Linked DNA regions of Homo sapiens: region 1 is linked to region 2. Evidence: promoter capture Hi-C in human tissues and cell types (Jung and others, 2019). All regions are on one chromosome and are shown on one strand. The core of a region is centred on a gene start or on the middle of the fragment in contact, and the rest is flanking DNA. Distances in the headings are between cores, read along the strand shown. Region 1 has its middle 13 kb from the start of ASCC2. Region 2 holds the start of HORMAD2 (HORMA domain containing 2).

What was found. Contacts are between HindIII fragments. The study calls those that stand out against the background at their distance.
Region 1: a fragment that was not itself captured here is called in contact with the fragment with the promoter of HORMAD2 in region 2 in 1 of the 25 tissues and cell types used here (bladder).

The regions. Positions count from the first base shown.
Region 1 is chr22:29,849,473-29,853,702 of GRCh38, reverse strand. No RefSeq gene overlaps it. Among named protein-coding and RNA genes, the nearest start is that of ASCC2, 13 kb to the right of the region's middle. The HindIII fragment of the contact is 4,899 bases long and covers 182-4,230 here.
Region 2 is chr22:30,078,520-30,082,612 of GRCh38, reverse strand. It overlaps HORMAD2 (HORMA domain containing 2), which reads right to left and starts at 2,149. Exons shown (of 11, transcript NM_152510.4): 1 at 2,122-2,149. It overlaps HORMAD2-AS1 (HORMAD2 and MTMR3 antisense RNA 1), which reads left to right and starts at 2,356. Exons shown (of 5, transcript NR_110541.2): 1 at 2,356-2,485. RefSeq lists enhancers at 2,079-2,158, 1,996-2,693, 3,868-3,947 and silencers at 2,499-2,548, 3,998-4,093. The HindIII fragment of the contact is 22,926 bases long and covers 1-4,093 here.

The DNA of each region.
Region 1 (4,230 bases), core at 1,382-3,881, 230 kb after region 2:
ATAGAAGAAAAGTCCCAGGGTAGAGACACTCCGAATAAGCTGAGGCTTTACATCCATGATCTCATTTGATTGCCTTCTCATACTGGTGACTACTATTCAGATCCCCCTTCAGTAGATGAGAAAAAAAAATATTTAAAAAATTGATGGCACTTACCCAGTAGTTCTCAAGCAGAAGAAATGTTGTGCCCCTCCCCCCAACCCAGGAGACTAGGGACACTGGATAATGTCTACAGACATTTTTGGTTGTTGTAACTTGGGGGTGGGGAAGGGGAAGGAGGGAGCTGTGGTACTGGCACCTGGTGAGTAGAAGCCAGAAATGGTACTCAATATCCTATAATGCATGGAACAGTCTCCCACAACAAGGAATTATCCAGGCCAAAATGTCAGTAGAGCTGACATTGAGAAACCCTGCTTGATTAAATCCAGGGTCACTTGGATGGTAGGCTCAGATTCAAACCCAAGTCACTCCACAGAATGCTGCTTGAGCCCACTCTAAATATGCAATACATCCCTATGCCAGAGTCAGCCAAAGGGTGGCTACAGCTAAGGCTCAGGAAAGCGAGAGGTCTGAGAGCCCAGGGGTAATGGAGCCCAGCCACTTCAGGGCCACCATAATCTTGTACCTACTTCACCCTCTGTCAAGTGCATTTCAGGGTGAGCCCCTTGTGGATTCCTGTATAATTTATTGGCCGTGGTGGCCTGTGCTTTGGAGGACCTAGGGATGTCTGTGGCTCCATGCCCAGGGTCCCAGTTCCATTTCCATTTCTACCTATTTGCCTGGCATTTGCTCTCCAAAATTGGAAATTAATAATTCATTGTGCAGGATGAATAATTCAGCAGCAAGGACAAAGGGCCAATGGCAGTGGTTGGCATCACAAAATCAGTCTATGTTTTCTTCTAAAGGGAGAGGGGACTGGGTGCTGTGGCTCATGCCTGTAATTCCAGCACTTTGGGAGGCTGAGGCAGGTGGATCACCTAAGGTCAGGAGTTCAAGACCAGCCTGGCCAAGATGTCAAAACTCCATCTCTACTAAAAAATGTAAAAATTAGCCATGTGTGGTGGTGCATGCCTGTAATCCCAGCTACTTGGGAGGCTGAGGCAGGTTGAACCCAGGAGATGGAGGTTGCGGTGAGCCGAGATTGTGCCATTGCACTCCAGCCTGGGTGACAGAGTGAGACTCCATCTCAAAAAATAAAAATAAAAATAAAAATAAAAAATTAGCCAGGTGTGGTGGCACACTCCTGTAGTCCCGGCTGTTTGGGAGGCTGAGCATCAAGGATCACTTCAGCCTGGAAGGCTGAGACTGCAGTTAGCTGTGATTGTGCCACTGCAGTCTAGCCTGGGTAACACAGCAAGAATCTGTCTCAAAAAAATGAAATAATGGGCCAGCCGCAGTAGCTCACACCTGTAATCCCAGCACTTTTGGAGGCCCATGTGGGCAGGTTGCTTGAGCTCAGGAATTAGAGACCAGCCTTGGCAACTTGGCAAAGTTTCATCTCCATTAAAAACAAATAAATAGCCAAATAGCCGGGTGCAGTGACTCATGCCTGTAATCCCAGCTACTCAGGAGGCTGAGGCAGGAGAATCACTTGAACCCAGGAGGCAGAGGTTGCAGTGAGCCGAGATCATGCCATTGCACCCCAGCCTGGGTGACAGAGTCAGACTCTGTCAAAAAAAAAAAAAAAATATATATATATAAAATAAAAATTAAAAGAAAATAAAATAATAAAAAATAAAGGGAGACGGGGCTGGGTGCAGCAACTCACACCTATAATGTAATTCCAGCACTTTGAGAGGCCGAGGCAGGAGGATCACTTGAGCCCAGGAGTTTGAGACCAGCCTGGGCAACATAGTAAGATCTCATCTCTAAAAAAAAAAAAAAAAAAAAAAAATTAGTCGATGCCTGTAGTCTTAGCTACTTGGCAGGCTGAGGCAAGAAGATCACATGAGGCCAGGAGTTCAAGGCTGCAGTGAGCCATGGTCACACCACTACACTCCAGCTTGAGTGAGAGTGGGAACCCAACTCAAAAAAATAAAAAATAAAATAAAGGGAAAGGGAAAAAGAAACTCTACATCCAAGATGATCTCTGGACGAAAATGACACCAAATACTGGACAATTTAAACAAGCTCCCCTTTTGGGAATGGGCATTGGTGAAGACATTGGGGCTGCCTGAAGGGAATTCTGGACTGTGTTTCCCTCCCCACATCACTTTTAGCCTCTTGAACCTTCACAGTCCATTATAGCCCAGCTTGATTGGCACCTGCTCCTGGAAGCTTTCCCTGACGTCCCTAACCAACTGAAGCTGAGAATATATTTCTCTCTGATTCCATGTATTAGCCACTGACCATTGCCCTGACCACTGCCTGCCTCACAGCCTCACACTAAGCCATGTTTCTGTCACCAGAGATTCTTGGGCCTTAAGATGGCTTTTCTAGCTAGAAGGGAAGAAGAGGTTCAGCAGGGTGCTGGCGTGAGTTGCTCTTAGACTTTTGAGGATGTTTCTTTGAGAATCAGATGAAGCCTCTCAGTCTCTCTACTGAAAAATATTCCCCAAACACAACTGTGTATAATTCAAGGGGGACACAGATCTTGGGAGCCCCTTCATGGACTTGGGTTTAGAATTTGTGCCTCATGGGGAGCCTTCTGTTAAGAAGAGGAACTACAGTTGTTCAGAACGTGTGCTATGGTTTGAATGTGTCCCCTTCAAAATTCAGGTGTTGCCAATGTGACAGTATTAAAAGGTGGAGCCTTTACGAGGTGATTGAGTCATGAGGGCACGGCCCTCATGAATAGGATTAGGTGCCCTCATGAAAGGATTTTTTTTTTTTTTTTTTTTTTGCTCTTGTTGCACAGGCTGGAGTGCGTTGTCACAATCTTGGCTCACTGCAATCTCCGTCTCCCGAGTTCAAGCAATTCTCCTGCTACAGCCTCCCAAGGAGCTGGGATTACAGGCACCTGCCACTACACCCAGCTAATTTTCTGTATTTTTAGTAGAGATGGAGTTTCACCATTTTGGCCAGGCTAGTCTTGAACTCCTAACCTCAGGTTATCCACCCACCTCGGCCTCCAAAAGTGCTGGGATTACAGGCGTGAGCCACCGGGCCCAGCCTCATAAAAGAATTTGATGGAGGGAGTTCAACCCTCCTGCCCTTCTTCCTTCTGCCATGCAAGGATGCACTGTTCCTTCTCTCTGAAGGATACAGCAACATGGCGCCATCTTGGAAGCAGAGAGCAAGGCCTCACCAGACAACCAAACCTACTAGTGCTTTAATCTTGGACTTCCCAGCCTCCTGAACCATTAGAAATAAATTTATGTTCTTTGTAAATATCTCAGCCTCAAGTGTTCTGTTTTAACAGCACAAACGGACTAAGACAGCATGGAAAACAACTCAATCTCTCAGTTTTGCCTCTCCTCAAAATGGCCCTGTCTCAGGGCCAAGGTATTTTAAGGAAGTCAGTAATCAGCAAGGAGCTATTAGATGCCTTCTTTGTGACCCTGGGCAAGTCATTGCCCATCTCTGGACCATGGTTTTTTACTTGGAATTGGAAGAGTTGGTCTAGATTATCCTAGCACTTTGATTCAATCATCAGCCAGCAAATATTTAATGCACACTGTAAGATGCCAGGTACCAAGCTAAGCACTGGGGATAAGGTTGGTGAACAAAACAGATGAGGTCTCTAATTTGTCAGAACACATAGCCTAATGAAGGAGTCAATCACTGATTGACCACACAATAAATACAAGAAGATAAGCTGTGACCAGTGACACACAAGGGAAGTGAAGGGAGCTAACTAGGAATGTGTATATCAGGAAAGTGATTATAACCTGGGAAAAAATGAGATGAAGAGGAGGCTTTACCTTGACAAGGAGAGCAGGGGGTTATTTCAGGCCGAGGAAGCAGCATGGGCTAGTGCCCTGAGGTGTGAAGGGGCCATTGTACTCAAGGAATTAGGTCAGAGCAGCTGCATACTGAAATCTCTGGGGACTGTGCAAGCCCAGAGAGTAGATACCCAGCAAGAAGAGAAAGTAGGGTTCCCCTCTTTTCTTGATGGTCAAGGCAAATCTTCCAGTAACTTATTTTCAAACTCTCTCAAGGAAAGCTAAAGAGCTGGCGATATTCCACTGGATTGAAACCCCAGGTTTAATGGCCAAAACCACTAAGTGTCAATATTTCCCATCACCAGCGTAGCCCAGAGACATCTTGAAATTCCTCCCTTTCAGATCCTA
Region 2 (4,093 bases), core at 900-3,399:
GCGGGCGGGTGGAGGGGGAGGTCTCACTATGTTGCCCAGACTGGCCTCGAACTCTTGGCCTCTCAAAGTTTTGGGATTACACATATGAGACACCACACCACGCCTTCAATTGCCCTATTTTATATGGTGGCACAATTACTTCCTATTTTACCCCTACTATGTGTGAGTCCAAGATTCACATAAAGATTAGCCAGCTGCTGTTTAGTTTACTAAGGCCTAAACCACTTTTTTAACCATTCCAAGTGAAGCAAAAGCCAAAGTTTTATTACATTTTCCCAAATATAATCATAGTTGATTTATGAAGGCTCTCTACCCATCTTTCTCAATCTTCAAAAACCGTTTTTTACAAGAAAATCCCTTTTCTATCAGGTGAACACTATCCAATAGCTGGATTCTGAAATGTAACTATATTACCTTCCTTACACATGCATGTTGTTAAGAATGGCTTTACTCAAAAGAAGTGTACGTTAACATAAATGGGTTCAATAGATTCCTAAAGCTGGAAGGGAGCACAGACATCTTCCAACCCCTTTGATTTAAAGAAGATCCAATTCTGTGGAGGAAGAATCTTTTTTTCAGCAAATGATGCTGAAACAAAAGGACATCTGGAGGGTGGGGGGAAGAACAGAGAATTAAAAGAAACTTAACCTAAATCTCACACTGTATACAAATATTAATGCAAAATGGATCATGGATTTAAACCTAAACATAAAACTATAAAGAAAAGGGGCCAGGTGCAGTGGCTCACACCTGTAATCCCAGCACTCTGGGAGGCCGAGGTGGGAGGATCACGAGGTCAAGAGATCGAGACTATCCTGGCCAACATGGTGAAACCCTGTCTCTACTAAAAATAAAAAAAAATAAAAAAATTTAGCTGGGCGTGGTGGTGCACACCTGTAGTCCCAGCTACATGGGAGGCTGAGGCAGGGGAATCGCTTGAACCCGAGAGGTGGAGGTTGCAGTGAGCTGAGATTGCGTCACTGCACTCCAGCCTGGCACAGAGCTCGACTCCATCTCACAAAAAAAAAAGAAAAAAGAAAAGGAAAGTGAGGCTAAGCAAGGGAACTTGGTTTGCCAAAGTTCGCCCAATTACTTAGACCTTCCAACAGAGCTTGCTTCAATAAATTATTCACCATTTTAACAAATTCCATTTGGCCCTGGTAATTCCCCTACCTGTGCTCATTCAGAGAAAATGGCTTCCACTATATTAATTGAGTATTTGTTCATGCTCTTTTGACTTTTTAATATCTTTTTCATGCTATTTCAATTATTCATTCATTCAACATCTACGAGGCAACTACAATGTGCCAGGCAACAACATGCAGGATTACGAGATGTAAAATACTGTTCCTACCTCAACAGATTGATGGTCCAATGGAGGAGAAATTAGATTATGATCCTGCTGAGATTAAAAACCCCTTTAGGGGCCAGAACCACCCCTCATTTCTACCAGCTGAGTACACGATGTACTGCACAGCCTGTCCAGTGCCCTGCGTACTCGGACACATTTTGGCGATTGGCTAATCCTGAGGTTCAAGACTCTCTCCCTCTGTTTAGGGAACTAAAGTCCATAGGGATTAATTGGCAAATCCTCACTAAAGTGAAAGGGGAGCTGAGGTCAAGGGGGGCGGGGTGTCTTGTCCCCACCTCTCTCACCTCTTGGCCTGTACCAGGCATCGATCCTGGCAGAAAACCTCAATGGCTGGGGAGAATCTGACCCAGGTAAGATAAACTTCCCCAAAGCTCCACCACACACGGCCCCCTCCAATGTCGGGCACAGACATCGTCTGCCCTGCCAGCCTCATCATGGCTCATTATGGCTGCTGCTTGCTCAGCAAGTTTGATTTCATGTCCAGAAAAATCTGAATTTCAAAACTACCTGGGTGCTCTCTGTCCAGTTCTGGGGGAAATCGCCTCCCTTTTGCCTTCCTCCTCAGCCCCCTGCCCTCCCGATTCTCTTCACAGTACTTTAGGCCCTCACGAAATATGATACTTTCAAATCCAACTTAAAGCCTTAAGTAATAAGAAAAGAAAAAAAAATTGTTTTTTGACATAAAGACAGAACTAACAACGCCCGAGTGCCCTCTCTGGGCCGAGACCTCGCGTCTCAACAGCCCTCACCTCAGCTCGTCGACGCTTCCCTCCCACCGGGGGTCAACGGCCTTTTCCGGCCCAAACCCGCTCCTCGGCTCATGAATAGTCAACGAGGCCTTTCTGGGCGGGACCAGAGGTTTCCTCATGAATAATTCATGACCCGTCCACGGCTAGCCTGGGCGACCGGCCTCGCTAGACTTCATGAATATGCAAAGCAGGGGCGAACGGCGGCTAGCCGGCCCCTAGCCCGCCCGGCCCCTCAGCAGCCGCCTCTCAGCCACGGGCTGCACACTGACCCGACGCGACCTTCGGTCAGGGGCCGCCAGCCTGGGCCACCTATACAACGACAGCCTGCTCCGGGGCTTCCTGAGGAGGTGCCTGCCCCGCCGAGGTTAGGACCCGAGGGACCGTGGGGCTCGGGCGGGCCAGGACGCCAGGCCGGCGGGTCCCAGAGAGGTCTGAGGCGGGCGCGGGGCGGCGTAGGGGAGGGAAGCGAGAGCCTGGGGGGCCCAGGGACCCGAGTTAGAAGAAGGCCCGAGAAGTGCGGCGCGGTGGCTCCACCTGGGATCCCAGCACTCTGGGAGGCTGAGGCGGGCGCGTCACTTGAGGTCAGGAATTCGAGACCAGCCTGGCCAACATGTTGAAAACCCGTCTCTACAAAAAATACAAAAATTAGCTGGGCGTGGTGGCGCGCGCCTGTAGTCCCAGCTACTTGGGAAGCTGAGGCACGAGAATCGCTTGAGCCCAGGAGGCTGAGGTTGCAGTGAGCCGAGATTCCGCCATTGCACTCCAGCCTGGGCGACAGAGCGAGACTCCGTCTCAAAAAAATTTTAAAAAGTACAAAAATTAGCTGGGCCACCTGACGTGCGCCTGTAGTCCCAGCTGCTCGGGAGGCTGAGGTAGGAGGATCGCTTGAGCCGGGGAGTTTGAGGTTGCAGTGAGCCAAGATCGTACCATTGCACTCCAGCCTGGGCAACAGAGGGAGACCCTGTCTCAAAAATAAAAAAAAAGAAAAGAAAGAAAAAAGACATAAGGCCAGAAGGCCAGAGCTTTCCAATACTTGAGGGCATCTGCAACCTCTTCATCCCTACCCTGGACCTGACTTTGCATTCTTTTTAACATTAATTTGTAATTATGCAAATAAAACATAAATATATTCTCCTTTGTGCCCTACCCCTAATCTCAGTTTTTTCTGCCCTGGTAACTGTGGGAGCAGTTGGGGGTGTGGCTCCTTGGATCGTTTCTCACCTGTTTAGGTAGATATTTCGTATCCTGTGGTGCTTTCCAAAGGCTCCTGGAGTCCCATGAACCTCCCCAAGGGGATTTCCCAAGAGAGTAGATGAAAGAGTGAGCCACTTGAAACCTGTTCTTATTTTGTTTCTGCAGGAAAGAAAAAAAAAACTATTCAAGTTGGCGAGAACATGAGTTTAGAACATAATGACTAAAACTGAAATTTGGGCTGAAATATTCTTTTAGTGCAAGTTTTCTCAACCTTCTCCCCACCCCCACCATCATAACAACCAAAAATTTCTCTAGACTTTGCCAAATGTCCCATGGGGTGTGCAAAATTGCCCTCTGTTGAGAACTACTGCGTTCACCCTATACTTTCCGGAAGTAACTGCTTTTTAAGCTCCAACCACACAGATGGTTTGTCTGCACCAGCCCTTCTCAGCCTCCGCATTTACCAGCCTCTCTGGCTGGATCACTAGGCCCTCTGTGCTGGCTGTTCTAATTTTCTTCTGCCTTCAGATCTGAGCTCAGTCAACTGCTACCATATCCAAAGACTTACCCCTCTCTGCCCTATACTATTGGCAGTCTACCCCACCAGCAAACACAGTTATTCGTTATTCTGTTTCTTTCATAGAATTTCTCTCAATCTAATTTTTTTTTTTTTTTTTTTTTTTTTTTTTTGTGAGACAGAGTCTTGCTCTGTCACCCAGGCTGGAGTGCAGTGGCGTGATATTGGCTCGCTGCCACCTCCACCTCCCAGGCTCAAGTG